3 separate regions of the Homo sapiens genome follow, and all the other regions are linked to region 1. The links are contacts of gene promoters, found by promoter capture Hi-C in human tissues and cell types (Jung and others, 2019). All regions are on one chromosome and are shown on one strand. Each heading gives the region's core, a stretch centred on a gene start or on the middle of the fragment in contact. The rest is flanking DNA. Distances are from core to core; before and after follow the strand shown.

Region 1 (4,692 bases), core at 1,209-3,708:
AGACGGGAAGCAGAACTTTTATTTTTTTAATTTTAACTTAATTTTTATTTTTTGAGATGAAGTCTTGCTTTGTCGCCCAGGCTGGAGTGCAGTGGCGCGATCTGGGCTCACTGCAACCTCTGATTCCTAGGTTCCAGGGATCCTCCAGCCTCAGCCTCCTGAATAGCTGGGACTACAGGTGCTTGCTACCACGCCTGGCTAATTTTTGTATTTTTACTAGAGACGGGGTTTCACCATGTTGGCCAGGCTGGTCTCGAACTCCTAACCTCAAGTGATCCACCTGCCTTGGCCTCCCAAAGTGCAGGGATAACAGGCGTGAGCCACCACGCCAGCCAGAGCCTTTATTTCTAAGCTCTCAGCCAAACACATTAACATAGTTTTATTAACTTCATTACAAGATTCAAAGTATTTTAACAAGAACATTCATAAGGACTCACATCGGGAAAAAGTGCTTATATACACCATCCTCACCTTTAAAAAATGAAGATGACGTTTGTTTTCATTGATCACTTTATATAACATAATTATCTTTTAAGCAATTTCTGTATAACATGAAATAGAATGAGACATTTTCTAACTGTTATTAGAGACAGAATTAAAAAGCAAAATAAATATATAATAACCTTTATAACTTTTGTCTCACAGGCCTTCTATGTCAAACAAGAAATTATCTTTTCATTTTTTTCAGGACTATAACAAGGAAAGCTATAATTTAAATCTATAATAAGGTATATCATTTTAAAGGGCATTAGTCAAAGCTGCAATTTCCAAGCAAGCGGTGGTTTAGTCCAAAAGCTTGAAAAGTGGTAGCTTATTCTACACAAAAAGTACAGTGTAACTCTATGTATTTGACATAATTCTCTTCATGACTAAGCTGACTTCAAAAGTAGTATAAAAATCCATAAAAACTTAAAAATAAAGTAGGCTCTACATAAGAATGGAAACAAATATCTGTATTGAAAAAATGAATTCTTCCATTGCCTTTATTTTTTCCCTTATGTTCTCTATTTTAAAAGGTAAGAATGAGATCACTTAGCTAATTCACCAATCAAGAGTAGTTCAGTGGATTACTTTCATCCTTATACTATTATCAAGTTGAGCAGGGCTGATCCTTATCAACTTTTCTGGCTTCAAAGCTAGGAATCAGTGTAAAAGGGCTAAAAAATCTTTTACTCAACAGATGGGATCCACTTAAGTGGTCTGTCCATACTTTTAACCCACTGTTCTTTTGAAGTGAACACCATCATACAGTGGGCAAACTTCTGCTTATTCAACACTTTAAAAATACCTTTAAAATGAGAAATCTCCAAAAAACAAGCCGTGGTTTCTTATAAGTGTTTTTCACAGATGTACTAAAGTAAGCGTTTCCTTTCACACTCTTTGCGCCTAACCGTCTACATGATAGGGCCAAACCCAGGTTAAATATTTTTTTCCAGCTACCACTCTGGACACACCAACTAATTATGCACACCTCACAAAACCACCTTTCAAAATGCAGAGAGAATTAACAGCAAGGAAGTAAAGATTTTTCTAAATATAGTCCCATCATATTTATTTCACACTCATCAAGTAGGTCACTGGAGGTAGCTGGCAGCTAGGGACACTCAGATGCATCTCTCAAAGCCAAGGCTGAGACCAAGGGGTCACTGACAGCTGCGCCATCTACCTGTTGCAGCTGGGCCACTGCTCTGGACAACTGTCAGATCAGCTTCTTCGTCCTACAAATACTAATGACTGGATTTTTAAAATCGTTGTTTGCCACCCTTTCTTCCCGCCCCCCAACCCCATCGGGCCGCTCGGGCAGGGCCAAGGGCGCCGCGGGACTCACGAGCTCCCCTCCGCGCTGGCTGCAGCGGCGATGCCGGGCATGCCTGGCCGGGCCCGGCCGGGGGCGGCCTCGCTGCCGGGGCAGGGACCTCGCAGGCCGGCGCGCAGAGGCGAGGAACCCTCCCGGCGCCATCGACTCACCTACCCGCGGAGAGGCGACGGCGCGCGCCGCTCACCAGCCCGGGCCCCAGATCCAAGGAGGAGGGGCAGCGGCGCGGGGACCCTGTGGTGGGTGTCGTAAGGAGGAAAACGTGTTACCTAAGCCGGGGATGAGGACAGAGCAGGAGGCAGCAGCCTTTCCCTCGAGAAACGGAAGCGGCGGGGAGCAGGAGGAGGAGGAGGCGCGGCCCGGGCGCGAGGTTAGGCGAGGGGCGCTGGGCGTGCGGCCGCAGGCGCGGCCAGAGGACGAGGGTTGGGGAGGACGGCGGAGGTCACGCGAGCGAAGGCGAAGCCCCGGCGACGCACGGCCCCGCTTGGCTCGGCACCGGATCCGAGCTTGGCCTCAGCCAGGCCGCCGCCCCCGGCTTTCCCGCGGGACCGCGGCGTGGAAACGCGCGCTGCCGCCTCGGGGCTCCCGGGACGCGCGGGCCCCCCACGCCTGCCCGAGCCGGGCGTCCGCGACGTCACAAGTGGAGCGCGATGATTCAGAGGGAGGGCCAGGAAGGGAAGGGCTCTGGGGTCAGCTTGGCCACGGCTGCTGTTTCCTTGTCGCCGCCCACGAATTCACTTTTAAATCTTCCTCCTCCATTCATCTGTACTCTCATAGGGGACTGCGGGTTTGACAGATGGGTTGGCAGCTGTGAAGATGGACTTCCTGCCAGTGGTATCCGGGTCCCACTGTTCTAATGGAAATGTCAGGTGTACTGGATGTTCCTCAAGACACAGCAGTGTCTCTGGGCCTTGCCTCTTAAGGAGTGGGCCTCGGGCCACCTGGACAGGAAGCGCATCAAGGGTGGGGAACTTATCTCTCTCCAGCCTTTGGTGCTGTGATACTCAGTGTACCTTAAGGATGGTTTGGGTTGAACCTAGGTAGGAATGGGTGTTGGTGGGCGGGGTGGGGGTGGGGGGAATAGAAACCTTAAAAGGGCAACACAAAGTTTTGAATAGAAGAGGCCAAGCAGCCTCGCCCAGAAGCTGATGTTTGTGAATGTACTGGGCCTTCTAAAGCGGCGCTTCACACACCTTTTCACTTCTTGGCACAGGTAGGAAAGGATGATATTACAAGGGTCAAAATGGGGGTAAACAGAAGAGGCTGCTCCTGCAGAAGGCTTCCTGCAGAAGCCCTTGCACTTGGAGGGCTGGGAAGACCCATGCTGTATCTGCATCCCTGTCATTCGTTTCACGGCATCCAGTTGGGAAGCTCTGCTTAAAGCTTTGTCTGGCACGTTTTCTTAGCTACATTTTTCCACTCCAGCTGAGACTGCCTCACTGAGTTGTCAACACTTGGTCTTCTTCAGCAGTGAGGAACCAACAAGACAGGAGGCTGGGTCAATACTCAACTTGGCAAACTCCAGGAAATGGTGCTTAAAACGTTTGGCTTCTTGAATGGAATTCATGGTACTGCTCCCAGCCTGCACCTGGGTTCTCCAACTTGAGACAATTTCTCCCCGCATCCCCCCACCCTTCCCTGGCTTTCACTCACTAGCAAGTGGGCTGCTTCTACTTTCTTTCTCACATTCATTTCTTAGGTCCATTCTCAGAGCGGTTAGGATTACTGTTTAATTAGCCTCATAATCATATCTATGATGGCAAAATCAAGAAACAATTTAAACATGATTCTTAAAAGTAAGGAGATAAATACCAGAGACATAGAAGGTGAAAGAATTTGCCTCTAGGAAGCAGGAATTTAAATTTGGGGAAGACAGGGTGGAGCAAGGGATATAAATCTAGTCCATTTTTCTTTTCTTTTCTTTTCTTTTTTTTTTATTTTTAAGATAGAGTCTCACTCTGTCGCCCAGGCTGGAGTGCAGTGGCATGATCTTGGCTCACTGCAACCTCTGCCTCCTTCGTTCAAGCGATTCTCCCACCTCAGCCTCCCTAGTAACTGGGATTACAAGTGACTGCCACTATGCCCAGCTAATTTTGTATTTTTAGTAGAGACGAGGTTTCACCATGTTGGCCAGGCTGGTCTCGAACTCCTGACCTCAGGGGATCCGCCCAGCTCAGCCTCCCAAAGTGCTAGGATTCCAGGCGTGAGCCACTGCACCTGGCGGAATCTAGTCCATTTTCCACTTTGCTACCACACATCTGCAGGGTTTCTTGCTTGCTTAAAAGCTTTCATTGGCTCCCAATCTCTGATAATATCAAGAGCAAGTTCCTGAACAACTCATTCAAGACCCATCACCCCTCGCATCTGTCAACTCTGCCCCTTGAATATTACACCTCATTTTACTACACCACATCTAGTTCCCTGAATATGCAAACAGATTTCATACATTTGCACCTTTATACATGTTATTGCTTTTGCCTGGGAGAGTATTCTCTTGCTGCTATAATAATAGCTAATGACACTGTGCTAAGTACTTTCTGTGATTTATAACTGTTAATTCTTACATCAACCCTATGGTAAATGTTACTGTTATCTCCATTTTATAAACAAGAAAACTAAGACTTAAAGAGTTTAAGTGATTTGCAGAAATATGTAGTATTTGGTGAGGCTAAATTTGAACCCAGCAATCTGACTCCAGGACTAACATAATATTACCTATTCATCCTTCTAAAATGTTTCCCAGACACTAAATTTGAACAGGATTAAAAGATTTAAATGTTTTTAAGTCTTAAAAGGGCAAGGAGAAAATACAAGTGAATTGCTTTTAATCTCAAACTAAGCATGAAACAACGGCTGAAATTACAAAGGAAAAGTGA
Region 2 (4,692 bases), core at 673-3,172, 230 kb before region 1:
TTTTTTTCCCTCCACCCCTGCACTCCACACCCTGCTGTACACACCCTCCCACTCCTATACCAATAAAACCCCTCCCTAACACACATTCTGCACACACACATGCCCCCACAACTTCCTCTGCAAACACACCCACATATCTCTCAGATACACGCCCAGGCAGTACAGGGCTTTCTGTCTCATGCCCTCAGTCTTCTCCTAGCATCTTAACACCATATATACTACCCCACACTTCCTCTTCTTTTCATTATCACCCGTACTTATTTTATTTTATTTTAATATTCCTTCACCTCATCCCGGCCCACCTGCCTTTGCTCCCTGGGCCTGGGAATGCTGGCACTGTAATCTTGTTCTGCACATTTGTAATCTGGAGCTGTCACAAGCAGGAAAGTCATCAGCCTGCATGTGCCTGCCTGTTCTTCTCCTGCAGCTAGGCTAAGAGGGAGGATGGAAGGAAGCTGGCAGGCAGTTCTATTTCTGGAAACTACAGAAACTCTTGTTTTCCCTCCTTAAATTCCCAAGGGAACCATTCCAGGCTTTGCAATAGTCACCATCATTTCTTCTTTCCTCTAATTCTGTTGCAAGTTTTCCTCTGTCCATTCTTCAGATTTACAATATGGTGTCTGTCTGTGGTAGCATCCCTCACATCCTGTCCATTATGACAAGTTACACAAGCCCAGGAGACCCCACAGAAGATATAAAGGACAATGAAAGAGAAGGATAAGATTGTTTATGTCCAACTGGAAAGTTAGGTAATTTAAATATATGTTAATCCCCTGGGATCTGTCTGTAGACAAAACATTGAAAAAATGCTGTATCAATAAAATATAGAATGTATTGGTTTATAGCATTTCCATGCTCTCCAATACCTGATAGCTTCACTAAGTTTTTTGTTTTTGTTTTTGTTTTTGTTTTTAAGATGGAGTCTCACTCTGTCACCCAGGCTGGAGTGCAGTGGTGCAATCTCGGGTCACTGCAACCTCCACTTCCCAGGCTCAAGCGATTCTCCTGCCTCAGCCTCCTGAGTAGCTGGGACTAAAGGCATGCGCCATCACACCCGGCTTTTTGTATTTTTAGTAGAGGTGGGGTTTCACTATGTTGGCCAGGCCGGTCTTGAACTCCTGACCTCAGGTGATCTGCCCGCCTCAGCCTCCCAAAGTGCTGGGATTACAGGTGTGAGCCACTGCTCCCAGCTTCACTAGGGTTTAAAAGTGATCCTCTTGGGCAAATAATTTGCCACAGTTGCCCAGCTTTCTTGTTATTCCTTGGTGAGGAGGATGATAGTTTAGCTAAATAAATATTAAGAAAAATGAGGGTCCTTTAATCATTCCATAATAAGAACATGTGAATTTTTAAGAACAGCCATTATTTACGTGAACCTAAATATTACACATAATCTATGACATTGCACTGGACATTAAGCGAAATAGATACTGTTTTTGTTCACTGAAAATGTACCATCTAAAAAAAGATACCAATGGGACCAAAAAAATGTGAATAGCCAGAAACAGATTTGATTATTTTCTTTTAATGTTAAAAAAAATTGAGTAAGTCCCCACTTTCCAAATAATAGCATCCTAACATATAAATTTTGCATTCAAAAACCTAACAATCTGGCTCCAATACACCTTTCAACTCTGTATTCCATTTTTCCCCACTAACGCTGTCATCTACACACTGGACTTACTGATTCCCGAACACAGTCTGTGCTTTTCAATGGCATCTTAAGACCAGGGGCCCTGTCTTTCCAAATTGTATCCCTCACAGTTCTCAGCCCAGTGTATTATGCATAATATTGTACCTGGTGAATAAACAGTTGCTGACAGTGAACTTCATGAGAACAAGGCAGTTATAATTAGGGTGGAGTTAGAATTTGCAAAGCTCGTTGCATACAGAAAAGGCATGTCCTCTTTGCCTATAAAGTGCCTACTTACTCCCTATATTAACACTGTTTTTCCGTTGCCATAACTGCCCAACAATGTTAATGTATTTCATGGCTCTAGGACATCCTTATTCAGCCTCACGTGTCCAGGCTTCACATATCTTTGGACTGGGTTTTACCAGAGACTAACAGGTTGCTATCACCACATGTATCCAAAACACATACGAAACAAGTCAGCACAGCACAAGTGGAGAAAAGAACCAGATCCCCCCCCGCCCCACCCCGCTCCATAAACTAGTAAATTCACCCTCAATTCAGTATGTTGCAGAAATACCATCTTCAGGGATACATTAAGATACACATTTCATTAATTTCTTCTCTCCTAGGGAAACTTTTCTCTTTCATTTTCTTAATGCTTAGCTGCATTTTGATGTTTCCCGTTTCATTTAACAAGTTACATTTATTAGCTTAAGTACTCTCTTCCATCAACAAACCTTGAAAGCTGATGCTAGTTCTAGAAATCATTGTTTCCAACCATACGGTTCAGATAATTTAAGAGTCTCATAGTAACAAATACAACCTGATTCAAGTTGTCAGTGATTTTCCACGGCAATAAACATTACAAAAAGTAATGCAGGCAGGGCATGCTGGCTCACTTTTGTAATCCCAGCACTTTGGGAGGCTAAGGCAGAAGGATTGCTTGAGACCAGAAATTCAAGACTAGCTTGGGCAGCATAGCGAGACCCTGTCTCTAGAAAAAAAATTTTAAAATAAGCCAGGTGTGGTGGTGTGCACCTGTGGTCCCAGCTACTCAGGAGGCTGAAGTATTAAGATCACTTGAGCCCAGGAGGTTGAGGCTGCAGTAAACCACGATTGTGCATTCCAGCCTGGGTGACAGAGGGAGACCCTGCCTCAAAAAAAAAAAAAAGTAAACCAGAAACATTTCACAGTACTCATGAATATAGGTCACTAAAATTCACAGATGATCTGTAATGTTCTTTTTAACCATTCATTTCTTTTTTTTTCTTTTTCTTTCTTTCTTTTTTTTGTTGAGATGGAGTCTTGCTTTGTCACCCAGGCTGAAGTGCAGTGACAGAATCTCAGCTCACTGCAACCTCCGCCTCCCTGGTTCAAGGGACTCTCCTGCCTCAGCCTCCCAAGTAGCTGGGATTACAGGCGTGCACCACCATGCCCAACTAATTTTTGTATTTTTTAGTAGAGACGAGGCTTCGCCATGTTGGCCGGGCTGGTCTTGAACTCCTGACCTCAAGTGATCTGCCTGCCTCGGCCTCCTACCTTTCCTTCAAGCAATATCCTTTAAAACCCAGAGTTGTATGTGAGAGCAAATTTAATTTAATCTCATCTATTTGACTACTTTATATTATCAGAAGTACTAACAAGCTGTGAAATGGCTCAAAAGAGAAAATGAAAGAGAGGAAAAGATTTTTTTAAAATGCCACAAACTGGCTAATCAGATCATGAACAGATGAGAGCTTTAAAAAGAACACACTTTTTTTTTAACCTTTAGTATTATACTACAAGGAATTTCTAAGTTTAGCAAAGTAAAAAAAAAAATTAGAAAAAAATAGTCTATTATATCAGATACTTTAGAATTTGAGCTTTGAATTAAAAATAATTGAGCAAAGCTTTGCAGAGTTAGGAGTGGGACTGCAGTGGGAGGGAGGAAGAACCACTTGTTGGGGATGGTGGGAAACTGGCATTCTGGGAGCTCCTGTAAAAAGAAACAGAGTCGGCTGGGCACGGTGGCTCACACCTGTAATCCCAGCACTTTGGGAGGGCGAGGCGGGCAGATCATAAGGTCAGGAGTTCGAGACCAGCCTGGCCAACATAGTGAAACCCCATCTCTACTAAAAATACAAAAAAAGTAGCCGGGCATGGTGGTGGGCACCTGTAATCCCAGCTACTTGGGAGGCTGAGGCAGGAGAATCGCTTGAACCCAGGAGGTGGAGATCGTAGTGAGCTGAGATCGCACCACTGTACTCCAGCCTGGGCGACAGCGTGAGACTCTGTGAAAGCAAAGAAAAGCAAAGAAAAGAAAAGAAAAAGAAGGAAGGAAAGAAAGGGGGGAAGGGAGGGAAGGGAGGGAAGGGAGGGAAGGGAGGGAAGGAGGGAAGGGAGGGAAGGAAGGAAATAGAAAAGAAAGGAAGAGAAAGAAAGGAAAGAAAGAAAGAGAAAGAAAAAAGAAAGAAAGAAAAGGAAGAAAGAAAGGGAAAGAAAGTAATTAGCTACCTAGGGTTGGGGGACAGGTCAGGTGATGAGAAGGTTTGGGAGTGTTGGTTGAGGGATATAGGCTTTTTTTTGAGATGATGAAAATATTCTATAATCAATTGTGATGATGGATACACAACTCTGTGAATATATTAAAAGTCATTAAATTACATACTTTAAATGGGTGACATATGGTATATGAATTATATCTCAATAAATCCATTAAGAAAGAATCTGTAAATATTAGGGCTTGAGAATTTATGGAATCTAGCTCATTCTAACCTGACTCACTCCACTCCAATTGTGAAACACTTTTTTTTTTCCATTCATAAGCACATATATCTTAACTGCTTTCAGGCATATTCAAGCCAAGAAAAATGAAAAAGGTGCTTGAGTTCATGAACTTTCTGGAGCAAGGGATTGAATTGTAAGCTACTGTACCTTTGACTCAATTTATTTCTGTTCATCTTGCAATAAATTTAAGAAAATAGAGGTTTTGTTGCAAGAATAAGTGTGAATTTCATAAACAAATGTTGCAAAGGAATTCACACAATGATGTAAATAGCAATAAAATAAAACAATGA
Region 3 (4,692 bases), core at 1,369-3,868, 140 kb before region 1:
CCTGGAGAGGAAGAAGAGCAGGAGGGATTAGTTGGTTAGCATTTCTTAGGCTACTCTGTTTTGAAATGTGAATTATTTAACTAGGCACCTATTTTTAAGATTTGTTGTGGGAAAACATACATTAAAAATTTACCATTTTCACATTTTTAAATGTACGGTTCAGTGGCACTGAGTACACTCACAGTGTTGTGCAGCTGTCACCACCATCCATCTCCAGAACTTTTTCACCACCACAACAAAAATTCTGTACCCCTTAAACCATAACTTACACTCACCCCTTGTCCCATCCCCTGACAACCACCATTCTACTTCCTGTCTCTTGAATGTGACTCCCATTCATTTTGTTCATCTTTTCATCTGTGAATAGACATTTGTTGTTTCCTTCTGCTACTTTGATTAATGCTGCTATCAACCTGGTATGCAAGTATCTGAGTCTTTGATTTAAATTCTTTTGAGTGGCTGGGCGCAGTGGCTCACGCCTGTAATCCCAGCACTTTGGGAGGCCGAGGCGGGTGGATCACGAGGTCAGGAGATTGAGACCATCCTGGCCAACATGGTGAAACCCTGTCTCTACTAAAATACAAAAAATTAGCCTGGCGTGGTGGTGCACGCCTATAGTCCCAGCTACTCGGGAGGCTGAGGCAGTGGAATCGTTTGAACCCAGGAGGCAGAGGTTGCAGTGAGCCAAGATCACGCCACTGCACTCCCCAGCCTGGCAACAGAGCAAGATTCTGTCTCAAAAAAGAAAAAAAAATTATTTTGACTAGGTAACTAGAAATGCAATTGTTGGATGATATGGTCACTATATGTTTAACACTTTGAGGAACTACCTTTTTTCCAAAGTAGCTGTACCATTTTACATTCCCACCTGAACTGTATGAGAGATCCAATTTCTCCACCTCCTTGCCAGAACTTATATATATCTTTTTAAAATAGCAATCATAATGAATGTGAAGCAGTTTCTCATGTTGTTGATTTGCTTTCCCCTAATAGCTAGTGATGTCGAGCACCTTTTAGGTGTTTATTGGCCATCTATATCTTCTTTGAAGAAATGTTTATTCAATTCCTTTGCCCATTTTTTAATTGGGTTGGTTTTTGTTATTGAGTTGTAGGAGCTCTTTATATATTCTGGACATTCATCCATTCTAGGGCACCTACTTTGACATTAAGATTATTTCTACTTTTCCCCATTATAATTAGCATCATGGTTAACATTGCTTTTTACATACCTTAGATTATTTACATTGGCTATAATTCCACAAGTGGGGTTAATGATTCAAAGGATATAACAATTTTTATGTTTTGTTTTGTTTTGTTTGAGATGGAGTATTGCTCTGTCACCAGGCTGGAGTGCAGTGGCACGACCTCAGCTCACTGCAACCTCTGCTTCCTGGGTTCAAGCGATCCTCCTGCTTCAGCCTCCCAAGTAGCTGGGACTACAAGTGCCCGCCACCACCCCCAGCTAATTTTTGTATTTTTAGTAGAGACAGGGTTTCACCACGTTGGCCAGGATGGTCTTGATCTCTTGACCTCGTGATCCACCTGCCTCAGCCTCTCAAAGTGCTGGGATTAGTGAGCCACTGCACCCAGCCATGCTTCTTAATATATAGTTCAGTTAAAAAAATGAGTGCAGAAACAATTTACCATGTCCCATTACCAGTTTTATATCTTCACCATTTATGGGAATGAGAGGAAGACAGAGATAACAGGTGGAAAAATGGTCATTATCTTATTATGTAGTAACTGCATTGTCTGAATTAAAACCTTCATTAAGACACTGCTTTAAATGTAAAAACCAGATATTGTCACAACAGGTTTTATAGCTAGACGAGATTAAGAAATCATCTGGTTCCATCCCCTGAGAAATAGTCTCATTTGGAGATAATATCATCAGAGACTCTTAACTCGTATTTTGGAAAATTAAACTAAAAGATCAAAATTCTTTTAAAATTTGATCTGACAGTAGTCTGCCTCTGCCAGAATGGAATAACAGGGACTAAATTTATTCTCCTTCCTCAAGTAACTAAAAAACCGGACAAAACATATGAGACAGTGGTTCCTGAGGGACATCAGCAACAAGGACAGTGATCCCTGAGAGATGGGAAGCAAATGAAAAGCTTTAGTTTACTGACTGATGAGAGTCTGAAATCTGCAGGGCAAAAAAAGAGAACTGCCAAGTTGAAGACTCTAGCCAAGAGTCTAGGGAGCCAAGGTGGCTAGAGTTCCAGGGCAGAATGCCAGAGAGGAGATAGCATCATAGGGAGAAAACTCCAGAGATCTATAGAGGGCTCCCCTAACGTATTCAGCAGAGTACTGATCAGCAAAACATGTGCAGACACTATTCAGAGTGAGGGAATGAACTACCCAAAACCATTTCAGAGAACAATACCCAGAACCCACACAAGGCGGGGAACACTTCTTCCCACCAGCCAAACTGGAACAACTCATGATTCCTAGGATTGGTAGAGTACTCAACAAGGTCTTTTGTTAGTATTATGAAATAATTAGCCGTAGGCTAAACACTGCTCTGGTCTCATCTACATAATCTTAAAAGCAAGACCCAAAGGATCACACTATTTCCAAGTAACTTAGCTGTGACCCAGAACAAAGCTCAAGAATATTTATAGGAAGACAGAAATAGCCAGCACCCAACCAGGTACCATTCACAATATCTGGCATAATAAAAAAATTATCAGGGATGATATTACTTAAGTCAGTCCATAATGGAATAAACACTGTTTTTACTGGGTACATTAGATTGTATGCCTCACAGTTGACTAAGAAACATTAAAATAACTTTCTTAGGTTTTATATATGTTTCAGTCATCATTTTAACTAGGTTTTTTTTTTTTTTAACTAGTAAGATGGACTAGATGATTAGCAGTAGCATACACAGTTAATTTCCTAAGAAGTCAAATAACGTGTTTGCTTTATCTGGCAAAACAATTGCAATACCCTAGATAATGCCAGCTTTCTCAGAATTGAATAATGCCTGGATAGTCTTAATTATGAGTGTTGACACCATAGTACCTAATGGGAATAATTGTAAGTATTTTCATTTCTATTATTAAAGATGATGCTAAGTCCATTTCTTTTCACATATGCAGATTTTTTTTCATTAACCACACTGGGGGAAAAACTCAAAAATATTCCAAGAAATAAATTAATTTATTCAAAATTAATTAGATTCAATAGCAAAATCCAACACAGATTTGGAAATCATTTCTTAAAGATGAATTACCGAAAACCTGAAAACACATCAAATGGTAGTAGGTTAACTTTAATGCTGACGCCAAACCTCTTGTTATGTGTATGTCTAAGCAATCAATTGCAGGATTTACAAGCAACCAAAACATTAAAATATATTTATTATAATTCTAGATAAAAAACAATTCTAGCAGTTATTCTTTTAAGTGTGAAGGCTTGGACACACACAAACTCTTCCAACCACAGGGTTTGTATCTATTTTCCCCCTCTCAGAAATTCTAATCATTTTCTAAAACTTTGAGTGTTCTAAGATAATTAAAGCATTTTCCAGTGGGATGACTTAAGTCAGGATGCTTTTAAACTATTCTTAGAATTTACTGACTAGTATTAAGTGGTAGTTGTAAAAGATTCTCCACAGTTAGACTTCTAGTTTCTATATTGCTTTTGAGACTGATTAGATAATTGGGAATTACATTCTTTAAATTAACTCAGGGAATTAAGTGAAGGAAAAAATAGTAAAGCACAAAAACAAAATTTCTGATACTAAAAGCAGAAGAATGAAAGCCACTCTGCTTGTATGCTCTGATGTTTTCCAGGGCAGATACAGGATTAAAATTGATTTCCCTAAAATAACTTATTTTAAGATATCGTATAAGTGAAGAAGCAATTAAATTCATCTCATTTCTTAGATAGGAAACCAGCAAAATGTAGCAATCCGTAAGAAGGGATTAAATTAGAACATCATCTGTGTATACAAAAGACAGTGGTGGAGCTGCAGTTCTCGTTCATAAACTGGAACATGCAACTTTCTAGTAATCTTAATAATCTGAAGCTCTTGCCAATGTTTTTACTACATTTGTGTTCTGATTCTCTCGTTTTAAAATAACAAAAAAAGCAACCTAGAAACTTGAAAACCCTCCGCCATTTCCCATATTTGTAAGACAAGATTTAGGAAGTCTTAGGAATTGTGCTACCGAAAACGACATTCCTGTAAAGTAGAGGGGACAAAAGATATTATAAACTAGAAAAAGAAAATGCTTCTACTTTCTTAGTTATTAGAGAACTGTGAAAAAGCAGTAGATGATTATTCTTTATGTGATGAAATAAGCACATTTACTCAGTGGCATGGGTAAATGTGTTTACACTAGAATTACAAATTTTTAAACCTTTTTAAGTATGAGATAACAAAGTTGGTAGATCAAACAGTCAAAATACAAGCTATTACTCCCTGACTGACAACAGTAACAAGGGCACAGGAACTGACTCTCCTTGCAATGTGTTAACTCTTCCATGGCTGCTTGTCATAAAACCACTGAGCCTTCAGTGACAATTCAATACCAACTCACATAACAGGTGCTTAAATATATTGATTGAGAATGAATGACTCTCAGAGACCAAGTAGTCCACATAAACTTAGTTTCTCAGTCCTTCCTTACCTTTACTGGGATCCCCCAGGATTGGCTTTGAGGCACAGTAAAAATCAAG

What was found. The method cuts DNA at HindIII sites, captures the fragments that hold promoters and counts their contacts. A contact is called where the count stands out against the background at its distance.
Region 2: a fragment that was not itself captured here is called in contact with the fragment with the promoter of INPP1 in region 1 in 1 of the 25 tissues and cell types used here (hippocampus).
Region 3: a fragment that was not itself captured here is called in contact with the fragment with the promoter of INPP1 in region 1 in 2 of the 25 tissues and cell types used here (adrenal gland and hippocampus).

What each region holds. Positions count from the first base shown.
Region 1 is chr2:190,341,355-190,346,046 of GRCh38, reverse strand. It overlaps INPP1 (inositol polyphosphate-1-phosphatase), which reads right to left and starts at 2,458. Exons shown (of 7, transcript NM_001128928.2): 1 at 2,086-2,458. It overlaps LOC124906109 (serine/arginine repetitive matrix protein 1), which reads left to right and starts at 998. Exons shown (of 1, transcript XM_047446773.1): 1 at 998-4,692. The coding sequence starts at 1,731. The coding sequence ends at 2,609. RefSeq lists silencers at 1,763-2,092, 2,163-2,472. The HindIII fragment of the contact is 3,445 bases long and covers 206-3,650 here.
Region 2 is chr2:190,574,094-190,578,785 of GRCh38, reverse strand. The region is part of intron 4 of NEMP2-DT (NEMP2 divergent transcript); the gene reads right to left. It also overlaps a transcript of NEMP2 not described here. Among named protein-coding and RNA genes, the nearest start is that of NEMP2-DT, 42 kb to the right of the region's middle. The HindIII fragment of the contact is 4,491 bases long and covers 1-4,167 here.
Region 3 is chr2:190,483,966-190,488,657 of GRCh38, reverse strand. MFSD6 (major facilitator superfamily domain containing 6) reads right to left here. Exons shown (of 8, transcript NM_017694.4): 5 at 1. It also overlaps a transcript of NEMP2 not described here. Among named protein-coding and RNA genes, the nearest start is that of NEMP2, 48 kb to the left of the region's middle. The HindIII fragment of the contact is 7,162 bases long and covers 1-4,692 here.